Regions from separate parts of the Homo sapiens genome. Here all the other regions are linked to region 1. Evidence: promoter capture Hi-C in 16 types of primary human blood cells and fetal thymus (Javierre and others, 2016). All regions are on one chromosome and are shown on one strand. Each heading gives the region's core, a stretch centred on a gene start or on the middle of the fragment in contact. The rest is flanking DNA. Distances are from core to core; before and after follow the strand shown. Region 1 holds the start of UCN3 (urocortin 3). Region 2 has its middle 23 kb from the start of AKR1E2. Region 3 has its middle 42 kb from the start of AKR1E2. Region 4 has its middle 5.4 kb from the start of AKR1E2. Region 5 overlaps AKR1E2 (aldo-keto reductase family 1 member E2).

Evidence for each region. The method cuts DNA at HindIII sites, captures the fragments that hold promoters and counts their contacts. A CHiCAGO score of 5 or more calls a contact.
Region 2: a fragment that was not itself captured here is called in contact with the fragment with the promoter of UCN3 in region 1 in 6 of 17 cell types (erythroblasts, total CD4 T cells, neutrophils and 3 more); the score reaches 10.8 in erythroblasts.
Region 3: a fragment that was not itself captured here is called in contact with the fragment with the promoter of UCN3 in region 1 in 1 of 17 cell types (erythroblasts); the score reaches 6.6 in erythroblasts.
Region 4: a fragment that was not itself captured here is called in contact with the fragment with the promoter of UCN3 in region 1 in 5 of 17 cell types (neutrophils, non-activated CD4 T cells, naive CD8 T cells and 2 more); the score reaches 6.3 in neutrophils.
Region 5: a contact is called between a fragment that was not itself captured here and the fragment with the promoter of UCN3 in region 1, in 4 of 17 cell types (total CD4 T cells, activated CD4 T cells, M1 macrophages and 1 more). The highest score is 7.3, in total CD4 T cells.

Annotation. Positions count from the first base shown.
Region 1 is chr10:5,363,651-5,366,350 of GRCh38, forward strand. It overlaps UCN3 (urocortin 3), which reads left to right and starts at 1,316. Exons shown (of 2, transcript NM_053049.4): 1 at 1,316-1,580. The HindIII fragment of the contact is 8,098 bases long and covers 1-1,583 here.
Region 2 is chr10:4,801,361-4,804,060 of GRCh38, forward strand. No RefSeq gene overlaps it. Among named protein-coding and RNA genes, the nearest start is that of AKR1E2, 23 kb to the right of the region's middle. The HindIII fragment of the contact is 3,618 bases long and covers 1-2,700 here.
Region 3 is chr10:4,782,521-4,785,220 of GRCh38, forward strand. No RefSeq gene overlaps it. Among named protein-coding and RNA genes, the nearest start is that of AKR1E2, 42 kb to the right of the region's middle. The HindIII fragment of the contact is 3,177 bases long and covers 1-2,700 here.
Region 4 is chr10:4,819,419-4,822,118 of GRCh38, forward strand. No RefSeq gene overlaps it. Among named protein-coding and RNA genes, the nearest start is that of AKR1E2, 5.4 kb to the right of the region's middle. The HindIII fragment of the contact is 5,131 bases long and covers 1-2,700 here.
Region 5 is chr10:4,841,575-4,844,301 of GRCh38, forward strand. AKR1E2 (aldo-keto reductase family 1 member E2) reads left to right here. Exons shown (of 10, transcript NM_001040177.3): 7 at 211-283; 8 at 847-930. Among named protein-coding and RNA genes, the nearest start is that of AKR1E2, 17 kb to the left of the region's middle. The HindIII fragment of the contact is 2,933 bases long and covers 1-2,727 here.

The sequences.
Region 1 (2,700 bases), core at 66-2,565:
CCCACCAACACCTCCCTCCCATCGTCCTCCTTCTCTCCCGTTCCTCTCAGCCCTGGCTCAGTCCATGCTGATCCATCCTTTCTGTCTGAAACCCCTCCTGCTCTCCTCTCCTGTCTTGAGTAGACAGGACTGCTCTCTTCTGTAGCATTTTTTACCTACCTTTCTTTCTTTCTTTCTTTTGAGATGGAGTCTCACTCTGTTGCCCAGGCTGGAGTGCAATGGCGCCATCTCAGCTCACTGCAACCCCCACCTCCCAGGTTCAAGTGATTCTCTTGCCTTGGCCTCCTGAGTAGTTGGAATTACAGGCACTCGCCACCATGCCCGGCTAATTTTTTTTGTATTCTTAGTAGAGCCGGGGTTTCACCATGTTGGCCAGGCTAGTCTTGAACTCCTGACCTCGTGATCTGCCCGCCTCGGCCTCCCACAGTGCTGGGATTACTGGCATAAGCCACCGCACCCAGCCTTCCCTACCTTTCTAAACCATGAGGCCCTGTATGGTTAGGGGCCACAACTTACTTATCTCTGAACTCGTGGGTGTCTTGGCAATACCTGGTACACAGTAAGTCCTCAATAAATATAGGATGCATAAACGAGTAAAATCCAAGCCATTTCCCACTAAAACCTCCAGACCTCTGGTGTATGATGACCTGCTGTCATAGCCCAAAGGAATGGTTGAGTTTCAGGTATCCAGAGAAAAATGCAGGTGTAGAGCTTTCCCCTCAAACGTATTAACAAATAGATGGTGCTCAGTCATTTTCGCGGCAGGCTGCAGAGAAATCTTAAACTTTCGTGTTGTTTCACTGAGGGTACGGCAGAAGAGCCCAAGGAATGTGAAAGGAGAAACTTGCATAATTAGACTTTATGTGGGGAGTAGGCACCGAGTGTGTGACAAGCACAAGGGGCTACGTGTGCGGCCAGATGACGCTGCACGGTCAGAACCCACAAAACAACACGGCAACAGGTGGATTTTAAACCCCTTCTCTGCTTTCAAAGCAGGTCCAGGCTCTACATTTACAGAAGGAGAGTTAGGGCAAGGGGAATGTGGGGGAAACTGAAATTAGTTAGAACTAAGATCAGCAATAAAATTCTTCAAAGACACTGCTTCTCACTTTACCAGGATTTTTGTTTTGTTTTGTTTTGAGTTTTTATTTCTTCTTTTTCTTTTTTGTTCTTTGCTTTTATCAATGAAGCAAGTTGCTAGGATGCAAAAGGAGTTGGGGGGTAGAAGGGCGGGGTGGGAAGCAGAGGTGGGAGGGGTCGAGGTTGGAGCACCTGTCGTCTGCATGACGTGGACGGCTGGTTCTGGTTGTATTTTAAATGAAATCTCATCCCAGCGTAGACACCACGTCTGGAATTACGATCCACCCTGTGATCTGTCACTTTTATATACACACAGGGGAGGGGACCGTTTCCATAGAGAGGGAATATCACAGCCCACTTAGGAACAATACCGGAGAAGCAGGAGCCGAGACCCCGGAGCAGCCACAAGTTCATGGGGACGTGCACGGGGCCGCCCTCCTGGCCCTGAAGCTGCGCCGGCCTCCCTGAGCGTTTCGCTGCGGAGGGAAGTCCACTCTCGGGTAAGCTTGTGGCTGGGACTGACTTATGAAGGGTAAATGTATCTGCCCTAATTTAAGCAGGAGGTGCCATGCACTAGACAGGTGTGAGAGATGAGAGCTGCTAGCGCCCCTGGGTGGAAGCCCAAGGGAGCGATGCTGAACGCCCCCCACCCAATCAGCAGAAATCAGCCCCAAAGGGACCAGGGGAAGTTTCTCAGGGAGGCACAATCACATTCCCACGTTGGTATAGAGAGACCCTCTTTCCAAAGGTGTTAGATCAGAGGCAGAAGGTGTTCACACAAATCTGTTTTCTCTGAACAGAGCACAGCTGTGCACAGGAAAGTCAGTCCTCGGAGACAGTTTACAAATGGGGATGGGGTAGGGATGCCGGGGCTAATGGGAGCCACAGGACATGACTCCACGCCGCCTGCAAAGCAGCGAGGACACCTGCACTTACTGTTTACCTGTGCCACAAACCTTCACCTGTGCCATCTCCCGTCACTCTCGGGCACACCTGTGAAGCAGGTAACGTCTCCTTCCTAGGACGCGGCAAGTGAAATGCAGGTTAAGGGATTCACCCAAGAAAAGTCAGAGGCAAGGGAGTTTCCCCAGCCAGGTCCTCTGCCACCAAAGCCCAGAGCCCTTTGCCACACTAGGAACATTGCGGGGGTGTGTGCAGATACCTACAATGGCTAACTCCTACCTGTGAAGGGGAGATGGATGTTTGATGTTTATGTTTTCTGAAAATTCCTGTTCGCAATTTCTTTCCCAAGCATAGCCACCTACCAAAAATAACAAATGTGAGATTTTTAAAACGTTTTAAGTGGTCTAGTTTCAGTTTAACTTCTTATCAGTGTTTGCAGACAAACGGAGCCCACAGGAATAGCTCTGCACTTGGCAGAGATGTGTGATCAGTACTGTTTGCCTCCTGCCTTTGCTGCTTCATGTCCTGTCCTCTCCCTGTGAGGTGCTGGGAATTGGAGGCTGACCCAGGTCCCTCACGTTTCAGTGCTTGGCTCTGCCACAGCTCCCAGAAGTAACTGTGTCTCTTTACAGCATCCTCGACAAGTGCTACTGTCACCATAGCCCAAAGGAATGGTTGAGTTTCAGGCACCCAGAGAAAAATACAGGTGTAGAGCTT
Region 2 (2,700 bases), core at 181-2,680, 560 kb before region 1:
TGTGGTTATATAACATTATCAGATTTTCTATCAGATCATGAAGCGGGGGTGTTGGGCACCCTTGCATTGAAAGCTCTGTTCTGATTTCACAACTCCTGGATCCACTCTCCAAGCCCAAACCCCTTCCTGAGAAACATTCTAGGTATAACTGATGAACCTGAGATGTCATGAGAGCAGGGCAAGGCCAACAGGATGCTCTCTTCCTGGAATGTGGATTTGGATTTCAAACTCTAACGAGTGTCTGTAAGCCGCTTAACTGGTGTCCTGCAGGCAGGGCTGAGGAGAGTTTGGGTTGTTTTGACTCATGCACACCCAAAATCAGAACATGTTTGTTTGCAAGGAGAGAAAAGAACAAAGCAGAAGAGAGACACAGAGATGAGAGGTTTGTCACCTTGGGTCACAGCGAGCCTGTGGCATGGTTCCCTGGGAGGCCCTGCTGCCCCTCTGCCTTCCCTTAGGTGCCTCAGATCTGTACCACAGCCCTTGGTGCTGCATTCTGCCAGCTCAGAGGGGTTTTGTTAATTGCAACCAAAAAGACTTGCTTAAGTATTTTAATTTCCACTTCCTAGTGGTTTTAATTAATAGTTGTTAGATGAATTAATGTAAAAACAAATGAATAAAGTAACCGCTTTAGATGAATTTTAAAAATTTTATTAAAAACATGAATATTATTTCTTCAACTAATTATCTACATCAGTGTTTTTTATGATTTCTCTCCAATTCCACTCTTTCCCCCACCAAAAAAGAGACAGTTGTCTTTCAGACACTCTTAGGATTACCTCATCCAAAATATTTGTTTTAAATGAAAAGACTTGATTTGTGAGGGGGATGTGTATATATGTGTGTGTGTGTGTGTGTGTGTGTGTGTGTATGTAGCAGAAAAAGAGGGGAGGATAAGGTCCTTTTCTATGCAACTCTCTGAGCAAAAACAATGCAGTCCTTTAAAAAATTGTTATCTTCTAATGTTAAAATAGCTAATTCTTATTTAAAGATTTAGTTGTAAGTCTTAAAGAAAATGTTAGTCTTTTAAAGATACAAGAAGTGTTAAGGGCTTCTCCACTTTTATTGGGCTGTTGGATTGGGTATTAAAATTGAGAAATATGCCTTATAAAGTTGTTTTTAATTGTAAATAAGTTCATGCATTGTTAAATTCAATTCTTGAAATATTCTGTTTCTAAGCAAATACACAACAGTACATAGCCAGTTTGCTATAGTTTCATGTTTTAAATTTTGTGTACATTTCATGTCACATGTTTCTTAATTTTTAGATGTTTACATATCTGAGCCTATGTTATCCTTGTACAAGTTTGATGGGAAAGCAACCAACACACTGATCTTTTATTCTTATTCAATTTTTCTTTCATAGGTAATTTCTGCACTAGTTTTATTTTACCTGAATTTGATCAGATGTTTTAAATGATCCAAATTCCTAGCACTAGAAAAAATCCAGGCTTTTGTAGTTTATGTTGTTGTTGAACGAGAAGAAGACCAGACAAGTAGACACACGTTCACTAATCATAGGGGTGACTTCCTTTCCAGTGTTCAGCAAGGGATGGGGTATAAGGCAATGCCAAACTTCAACCTGCCCATCAGGTGAAAGAGTGAAGAATGTTTAATGTAGAGTTGTTCTTGAAACTAGGCCAGATGATGTCACATACTGGCTTAATTTTTTCTATTGGATGCTTAATTATTTGAGGATTCTGCAGGAAAAGTCCGGGTTGAGTTGGCTTGTTCAATACTAAAATATTTTTCTCCTGCTAAAGCACACACATTCGCTCACAGCAGTGTATATGGAACTTATAGATGTTTATTTTTACCTCTTTTTTTCTTTTCCCTTCCTTTCTTACTCTCACTACCTAAGTTCAAGGTCTGTGGACTGTGTACTTGTGGAGGAGGAGCACCAGGAAGGGGAAGGGAGGGATTCCTGCTGGCAGGAACCATGGAGAGCACATCCCTACCTAACCCTGCAGAAAAGTAGCCACAGCTCAAGGAGGTCTCTCATGTAGATCTATAGAGTAGCCCGTGCAAAATAGCATCTTTCATCACAGAGTGACTGACTTTTAACAAAGCAATAAAGCTAAGCCTCTTTGGCCCATCTACCAGAATGAGGACACTGCGTTGTTAAGAAATCACTCAATTAAAATAATATTTGTCGAAATTGTACTTGACCTGTAATCAAGAGCGACATTTGACACCTTAGTGCAGCTTCTCAAATGTTACTTATTATGACTTGGAAGGGTAACAATAAACAAAAACAACACAACAAATAAATACAACAAGAGGCAAATCACACTTCCCTTTGGTTTCAGAATCTACAATGACTGCTTGAACATTTGCCTAGTTTAGGAATATGTCTTTGTCTCAGGATTTTAGGGGTGCAGAAAGGAATGAGAGTATATGGAGCCCACCTTTTCTGAACTAGCTTTCCCAGTAGCCTGGAAACAGAAGGATTTTCTTGCTTGGTAGAGAGTATTGAACCCTGTCCTTCTGTGTGTCCAGGCCAATGTCTGTCGAGAGCTTGACTCTCTGTGCTGGAACTAACCTTGTCCATCTTCCCATAGTTCAGTATTGTCTTCCTCAAAATAAAGGAAATTATCTCCAACTTCTTGAAACATGCAGAATTTTGAAATGGTTTTCTTTATAAAAACGATAATATCAGCATATTTTCTAAACTGCTTGTTAGAGGTATAGAGTTGTGCA
Region 3 (2,700 bases), core at 30-2,529, 580 kb before region 1:
CCAGTGATCGCTGGATATATCTGGCTGATCAGCAGGTTTCTCAGTCCAAAATTCTGAGCATCTCATGTGGCATTATCTAAACAGCCACACAAAGCCAATAGGTAATGGAAATGGGTCTGGAAGATGACCAGCAAGTAATACCTTACCAAAAACTTTCAGTTCTGATGTTGATGAACAGTTATACACTCCTGTTCTCTCTTCCCTGGTGAGAAGGCCATTCCTAGACTGCTTCTCCACTCCACATATTAACGGCCCCTGGAAAGCCACTGTATTCATCTCTCCTGTGTGAAACCCCAACATTCAAACACTGACCATTGTTTTCAGACCAAACTGAAGTTCCGTTACACAGGTAGGCTGCTCCGTTAGCAGTCATTTGTCTACACCCTATACTTCACAGTAAGTTAATGATACAGCTCAAGAAATGCCTTTTCTGACCGTATCTTTTAATATATGGACCATATCCACCAAGTCAAACTTCAATTTCTATTTCCAAGTGCATATGTGCCACATTTTGGAGCAGTGAAGACATGTTAAAATGTGACTGAGAGGTTAAGTATGGCTAAAAAAATTAATCTTCTACTTTTTTCCTTGTTTCTTATTGAAATGGATTCCGTAAATATTAGCTGGAGAGGTAATTGCTTACTACAGTTAGAAATAAGACAATAAGTAGTTTAGGGAAAGTAATTATATTTATATAGCCTTTGCTTAGATTTCAAAAATTATATGTTTTATAGTTATGACTTTAGAATACAACTGCCTGCATCCTGTTTAGCTCAACGTCCAGATAACACCAGCAAAATGGGTTCTCCTTCATCAGTCTATTGGTAGCTCTCTCTTTTTCTTTAATGTATTCTTAAATACAGCATTGGAATTTCATAAGGACAATATTCTAGGAATGCCCCAAAGAAATATGTGCAATCTGACCTAACATCACATCTTTCGTGAATGACTTGGAAAAGGTAATGTTGTGACTGGTTCATTGTAATTCAGCACATTTAACCTACAGTTACAACAATCATTATTCCCAAAAATGTGTAAGATAGCCAGGGTATCAGAGAGTCTGTCCAGCCTGTTCCCTTAGCTACTGATACCTGTCAGACCTCACATCCTGATCTGAAATTGAAAAGTGTTACAATAACAACTACAGGTTGTCGTGTTGTTAGTTTTGTCCAGGCAAATATATGTATTTATAGCCTCTAGGATCCATGCAGGTACCATAGTCTTGTAACCCCACCCCTCTGTTCACCATTGACTGTGTAGAACAGTGGCTAAGACCACAGGTTATAGAGTTAGAGACTTCCTTCTGATACTTCCTGGTGGAATGACAGTGGACAATATCTGTAGTATCTGTAAAGCCTCAGTTTTATCTGCTTTCAAAATGGTAATAGTATTATCTACCTCATAAGTTGCTTATGAGGATTAAATGAGATAATATATATAAGGCATAACTTACAGTGCCTTGTGGTTAGTAATTACTCGTGAAATGTTAGCTATCATTGCTGTCATTATTTTAATATACAACCAAGATTAACATTATGTGAGGCCCCACTGGCAGGTCAATTCCCTTCAAATATTATTTGGCTATTTCTGAGTTATTGACTCTCATCTTCATAAGAATCAGTACCTAAGGTTTTAACAAATAGAGATATTTTATTTGTATAAATAATCATCTCAAATAAATTTACTACTTGCTGTCTGAATAAATCCTGGTTTTAAAAATGACTGCTGGAAAATTTGCGATTTATACCAATATCAATATAATAGTAACTTTCCCTAAACATCCAAAATGTTGATACTAAAAATATAACTTTTTTGCCATTTGGAGTTTTCAAAAGCAAATCTATTTGGGTAAACGGTGGTCTAAACCTGTTTGGACCAAATAAAATCATAAAAATATTTAAACCATTTACTTCTTCAACGAAGCACATTTGTGAATAAAACATTGGCAAATATTAAATTAGATCTCTTTATATAATTAATGACGAGAGAAAACTAGCAAAATGTTAAGGGAAACATTATTTTTTATATAAATATAGAAAGCCTGAGAAATACATGTTTGGATAGAGTGAGACATTTCACTTTATGTCATAAATACCATGTTTTAATGTTTCAAAATTTCAATTTGAAAGGGGGAAATATGTAATGTTTCTGCCAACAGCACTTACATAAATTTCATGCATGCTTGGTCTATTCCTTCTAAAATGCATTTTAAAAGGAAGATTTAAAAAATACGAAAACAGCATGCTTATTATCCACAGTACCTTATTTATAGGCTTGCTCCACAAGTCACTGTGAGACCACAGCCTGGAAATGATTTTTCTTGTGCTTTTTCTTTATCTACCACAAGGAGGAAGATGTCATCAGCCATATCTATAACATGGCAAGAGGAACAAAAATTAAAAGCTGTGGCTTATGATTAAAGGCATCCTATAAAATATGTGCTTGCTGAAACGCCATCGGCTAACTCCAAATATGTATGGAACTAAGTGTAAAGTTATGGCTGGCAAGTTGCTTTGTGTCATTTTCTTGTCGACGCTCAACATGCAAAGTAGCACCAGCACTCTGTGCAAATAGAACAGCAATGATACGGCAAAATAAGGAAGGGCTGGCTGGATTAGCAACAATGATACCAATACACTAACATACTAATGCACCCGACATTCTAATACCCAGGGGCATGAGGGCGTGGTCAAAATTCCA
Region 4 (2,700 bases), core at 17-2,516, 540 kb before region 1:
CAATCACTGATAGACATAAATCTGCAAAGAATTCACTTGAGGGGGAGATGAGTGTCTTCCACCCCATTCAAGGTTGCCATTTTCCACAAAGTTCAGGCAGTGGAGTGAAATGCCACAATAATACTCTATTAAATCAACACATTGGTAATGTGATGGCAACACCTGTAGCCATTTCAGATACAGGCAGAAGCTCGCAGTTATTAAAGCCACATGGAGAGGGTACAGCAGGAAATGAAGAAAGAGGGAAGAAGGAGAAGCAGAGAGAGGAGAGATGCATAATTTAATACCTCCAGAAGCAACCTTGCTACAGACCATCGTCTGTTTCTATTTTTTTTCTCTGTGTCACACAGTGCTATAATGCAGAGGAACCACTGCTTTGAAGGGTATATGCCTGCACAGTCTGAGATTGACAAGTCGCTGTCCCCCGTGTGTCCCCATCGATGAGAACCACATTTATGGTTCTTGTGGTTGCTTGGACAGTCTTTATTTTCATCATGAGACAAAGATAAGGCAGACATTTCTGGTGAAAGTCTAACAGTTAAGTTGTGGTAAAAGATAGGATAGTTGGCGTTGGGCAACTTCAGTGAAAAAGAGCTCCTTATAATATCATAATCTTGTCCTCAGAAACTCGTGGACTATTATTTGTGGCTGCCTTTTCATCCTTTACTTTAGCAACTTACCGGTTGCTTTCTGTGTATGTGGGGCCAGTTTATGTGAGATTTGAAGAAGGGATTTTCCTTTATTGGGAATGTCTAATGAGCACTTACAAGCAGAATTTCCTCCCGATTTTTTTCCTCTGCACTCTGAATACTGGAAAGTGTTTTGAGGGCCTTCTGACAGTACACCACAGTGATTTTTTTTTCTGTCGTAATCCATTTATGACTAAAAAACATGATGCTTTTTGTTTTTGAGATAGAGTCTCGCTCTGTCACCCAGGGCAGAGTGCAGTGGCACAGTCTTGGCTCACTGCAACCTCTGCCTCCCAGGTTCAAGCGATTCTCCTGCCTCAGCCTCCTGAGTAGCTGAGATTACAGGCATGCGCCACCACGCCTGGCTAATTTTTGTATTTTTAGTAGAGACAAGGTTTCACCATGTTGGTTAGGCTGGTCTCGAACTCCTGACCTTGTGATCCACCCGCCTCAGCCTTCCAAAGTGCTGGGATTACAGGCATGAGCCAACGCATCTGGCCACATGATGCTTTTTTTTTGGTTGCTCACATGACAAGCTATTATTTTTGTGTCACTTTAAACAGAACTTAAGGTATAGACTTCATGCATTCCTTCTTGAGCCCTCTTCCATTACAGCAGTTAAATTTTGTCCAGATTCTGTAAACTAGTATTGCTGCCTGAGTGGCCGTGGTATTTCCTTTGAGCTGAACTTGGCCATTTTAGCTTCTTATTAGACAAAACAGTATACTTGGAGTCCTGGTGAATAACCAGACAAATGGAATTTCTTGTCCACAAAGCTCTAGCACAGTGGTTCGGCGCAGAGGCCCATGCTTCCCTACTTGATCTTGTCGTCACTGGCTCAGCCAAATGCTATTTCTCAAAGTTCATAAATCTCACATCCTCTTTGTGGAGTCTTTCCCCTTTTTGTACATGTATAATCCCCGGCCTCTAAGTAGTCTATTCACTTCTAAAGCTGTTGACTTGGCAAGATAACAACTGCATCATTCACACAAGCAAATCTGCTCTTGGAGGACAAAAAGAGGTTTATTTTGGCTTAGATGACTCCGATTGGCCATCTCCATTGAAACCTTGGCAGAAGATAGGTCCCTTGGCTACTGGGGAGAAAAGTCAAGTAAACCTTTAGTGCCAGGAATGGTGTTTGTAAAGATTCGGCATGAAGTGGTACATTTCGTCCTTGGGCTTCTTACTGGCTTCAACCCAAACAGAATCACTTAGTGCTGTTCCCCGGGTTAATGATGTTATTAGAACAATTGACTCAAAGCAAGAACTGAAAGGCTGAGTGCTTTGTTGTGAGGTGTGCAAAAATTCAAGTCTATCAAAACAGGCTTAGCAGAGCTGCCACCAGCAGGACAGCGTTTAGCTTTTGTTTGCTGCTTCTTTGATTCTTCATGGGCAGCTGGCATTTCTGTTGCTGGTTTCTACTCTCTCATCCCTAGTGGACCCTACGTTTTCTCCCCTGAGTGTGCTTATCTGTCCAGCTGCAAAAAAAAAAAACAAAAGGTGTGCTGTTGTTTCTGCACTTCTCCCTGTCCTCATCTCTCAACATCATATGTGTGCAGAGAAATCACACTTGTTGCTCTGTTGTCTCAAAAGGTCTAGCCCTGAGTTTGCTGAGGTGATGATGAAGGTTGTGTGAAGCTGTGTCAAACACTGAGAAACATACACACAGGCTGTAGCAGATGTGTGTTATTCCCTCAATGCATGCACCAGTGATGGGGATTTAGAATGAGCCACTGTGCAAAGATGCCCCAGAGAGACTATTCCCTATACATTATTATTCAGTGTAAGATACCCAATAAAGCAACTAGATAAAGAAATGCCTATATCTAAACCTAAAATATTCACTCACTCCCAGCGTTAACTTCCCTCATCCTTAAGAACAGGCTATCCATGGAGCTACCAAAATGCACTTTTAAAAAGTGTGTTCATGCTGCACTTCATATTCATGCTCCCTTTTCCCTTGACAATGTGTTATATGTTGAGAATCTTTAAATAAAACTGCTCAACCACC
Region 5 (2,727 bases), core at 129-2,628, 520 kb before region 1:
TAGCCTTGTTCACCAAAGTGTTAGCAGTGGTTATCTCCATACTGGAAATGTGGGGCGATGTGCTTTTCTGCATTTTAAAATTTCCTGTAGTCGGCATGTGTCATGATCAGAAAATAAATCTTTCATTTTGGACAAAGATTTCTTCTTTCTAAAGAAAGGGGCATCCATGTTGGATCTCCTGGCTCACTCCCCTGTACTGTGTCTCTCTAGTGAGGGGGTTGACCTGATAGACAACCCTGTGATCAAGAGGATTGCAAAGGAGCACGGCAAGTCTCCTGCTCAGGTAGGGAGGGAGGGCTGTTCTGAGCCAGGTGGGGTTCTCTGACCGCTCTACATCCTTGGGGAGTCCTGGGGCTTGGCAGGTCCCAGGAAGGGACTGGCTCACCCAGGTGAGTCCATGACTCATTAGAACCTCCCAGCGTCAAGCAGAATTTGGTCTGCAGCCGCATTTCTAGTCACTCAAGCCATGTACTCTTGCCTCCGAGCCTGTCTAGACTCAGAGGAGGAGTTTCCAGGCCTTCTCCCTCTGCCCCACCAACTGCATGCATGGTTAGTATGAGATGGTACAGAAAAGTTATTTATTCTAGTCTTCTTTGTTCTAATGTCCAGTGGGGGGCTGGGCGCATGTTAAGGAATTCTCATTAAGCAGATTCTCTGATCTCCTCCTTGGGCTGATGGCTGTCATTACCAACATATTGACAGAGCTGCTCAGTGAATGCCAGTAACAATAGCTGCTGTCATTGATTCTTGGACTCTTACTGCATGATAAAACTCACATGTTAGAAAATAACTTAGACTACATGGGATTTCCCTTTGTGTGATAGTAGACTTTTTGTTTCCTTGCAGATTTTGATCCGATTTCAAATCCAGAGGAATGTGATAGTGATCCCCGGATCTATCACCCCAAGTCACATTAAAGAGAATATCCAGGTAGGTGTATTCCTTCTTTTATTTGGCGGGTTTCAGATCATGTGTTAGATGGGAAGGGATGACTGCTGTAGCATACAGCCTCAGGGTTGCGGAGCTTGATGCAACAGGGGCTTCTCCCTCTGCACTGTGGGTGTTGGTGGTTGACCTTCCCTCAGCGATCAAAGGACCCAGGCTCCTTCCATCTTAGGGCCCTTTCTCCCCTAGGGTGTTGGTGTCTTCTCCATCCAGCCCAAGATTAGGAAGGAGGGAAGAGCATCTTGTTGGGATGATTTGTGTGGGCCAGGCTGGAGCATGTGCACCAGTCACATGGCTGCGCTCGCCCACAGGGGAGGCTGGATGTCTCCTAAGCGTGCACTCAGGAGAAAGGGGAGGCAGTTGGTGGACAGGTCACCACCTCTGTCGCATGGAGGCATGCCCACGTGGCCTGAGGGCACTGCTTTGAGTTGTGTGGGAAGATTCTGGTCCTGACTCCTGTCTAGTGACTTCTGAGAGGCAGGAGTGAAGACTGGAACAGGTGGAGCGTGTGCAGAACACAGAGAGGCAGCGGTCCTTTTCAGGGCAATCTTTTCACCTAAGCCAAGAACCACAGAAGTGTGTGAAGTGTGTGAAATCTATTTTTGGAGCTATGTGAAGGAACTCTGTGTGGCTTCAACCCTGACGACATAGTCTGTAACCCAGTCAGGGCCATGGACTTGGGATTCCCACAGTCTCACTCACGATTTAACTGCTGCATGACCTCTCTCAGCCTTTGTTTCTTCAGTAGAGCACCCTTCTGATAGGATCACTGAGGGTGAAATGTAATGATACAGTGAAGGGATAGCATAGTGCCTGGCGTATGGAAGTACCTGATGCTCTTAGCTGCCAGTCACCCTCAGTCACGGATGTCACCTGTGATGATCTCACAGGCAACGACAGGCATTGGTGGCAGCCCACACCCATTGATCATGTCAGCATAGGTGTGTGTGATCCTGGGGCCAGCTGCACAGCTGCATTTTCATAGACAGCATGTGCCCAGGAGTATGCTCCCTCTTGGTGTCTGAGCTGCCCATGAGCTCCACAAGGCACTGCTGCATCCTGAGGGCTCGGTTTGGTTGTGCCAAGCAAGCATCGCCATTGGGGTTTATTGACCCATCTGTAACAGTGCCTGTGCCCTCAGGCTTGCTGTGCATGCCAAGCTGGCTGCAGGTGGGCATAGCCCTGCCATTGGCAGGAGAGGCAGGCCACCCACGATGGGAGGACCAGGGGATGGGCAGGTTCCTCATGGTGTCTACAGCACTCTCCCTGCCGGGCCCTTGTCCAGCTCACCTGCTGCCCGCATGCCCTTCTCCTCTCCTTTCTCAGGCGTCCTGCTCTTTGAATGGCCCAGAGCAGCTCTGGGTGACCAGCCAACCTTAAGCCTGAAAGGTATGGATTTGGCTAAACTGTAAACTCAGTTCTCTCCAATGGCTGCTGACGGGCCTCTTGGAACGAGACTGCAGGTCTCTTGTAGTGGTTAGAATTGAGCACTGCTGACTGACCGGCATCTGCTCCACATGGTGTGTCCGGAATTGGTGGGTTCTTGGTCTCACTGACTTCAGGAATGAAGCCGCGGACCCTTGCGGTGAGTGTTACAGTTCTTAAAGGTGGTGTGTCCGGAGTTTGTTCCTTCTGATGTTCGGATGTGTTCGGAGTTTCTTCCTTCTGGTGGGTTCATGGTCTCACTGGCTTAGGAGTGAAGGTGAGGACCTTTGCGGTGAGTGTTACAGCTCTTAAGGTGGCGCGTCTGGAGTTGTTCGTTCCTCCCGGTGGGTTCGTGGT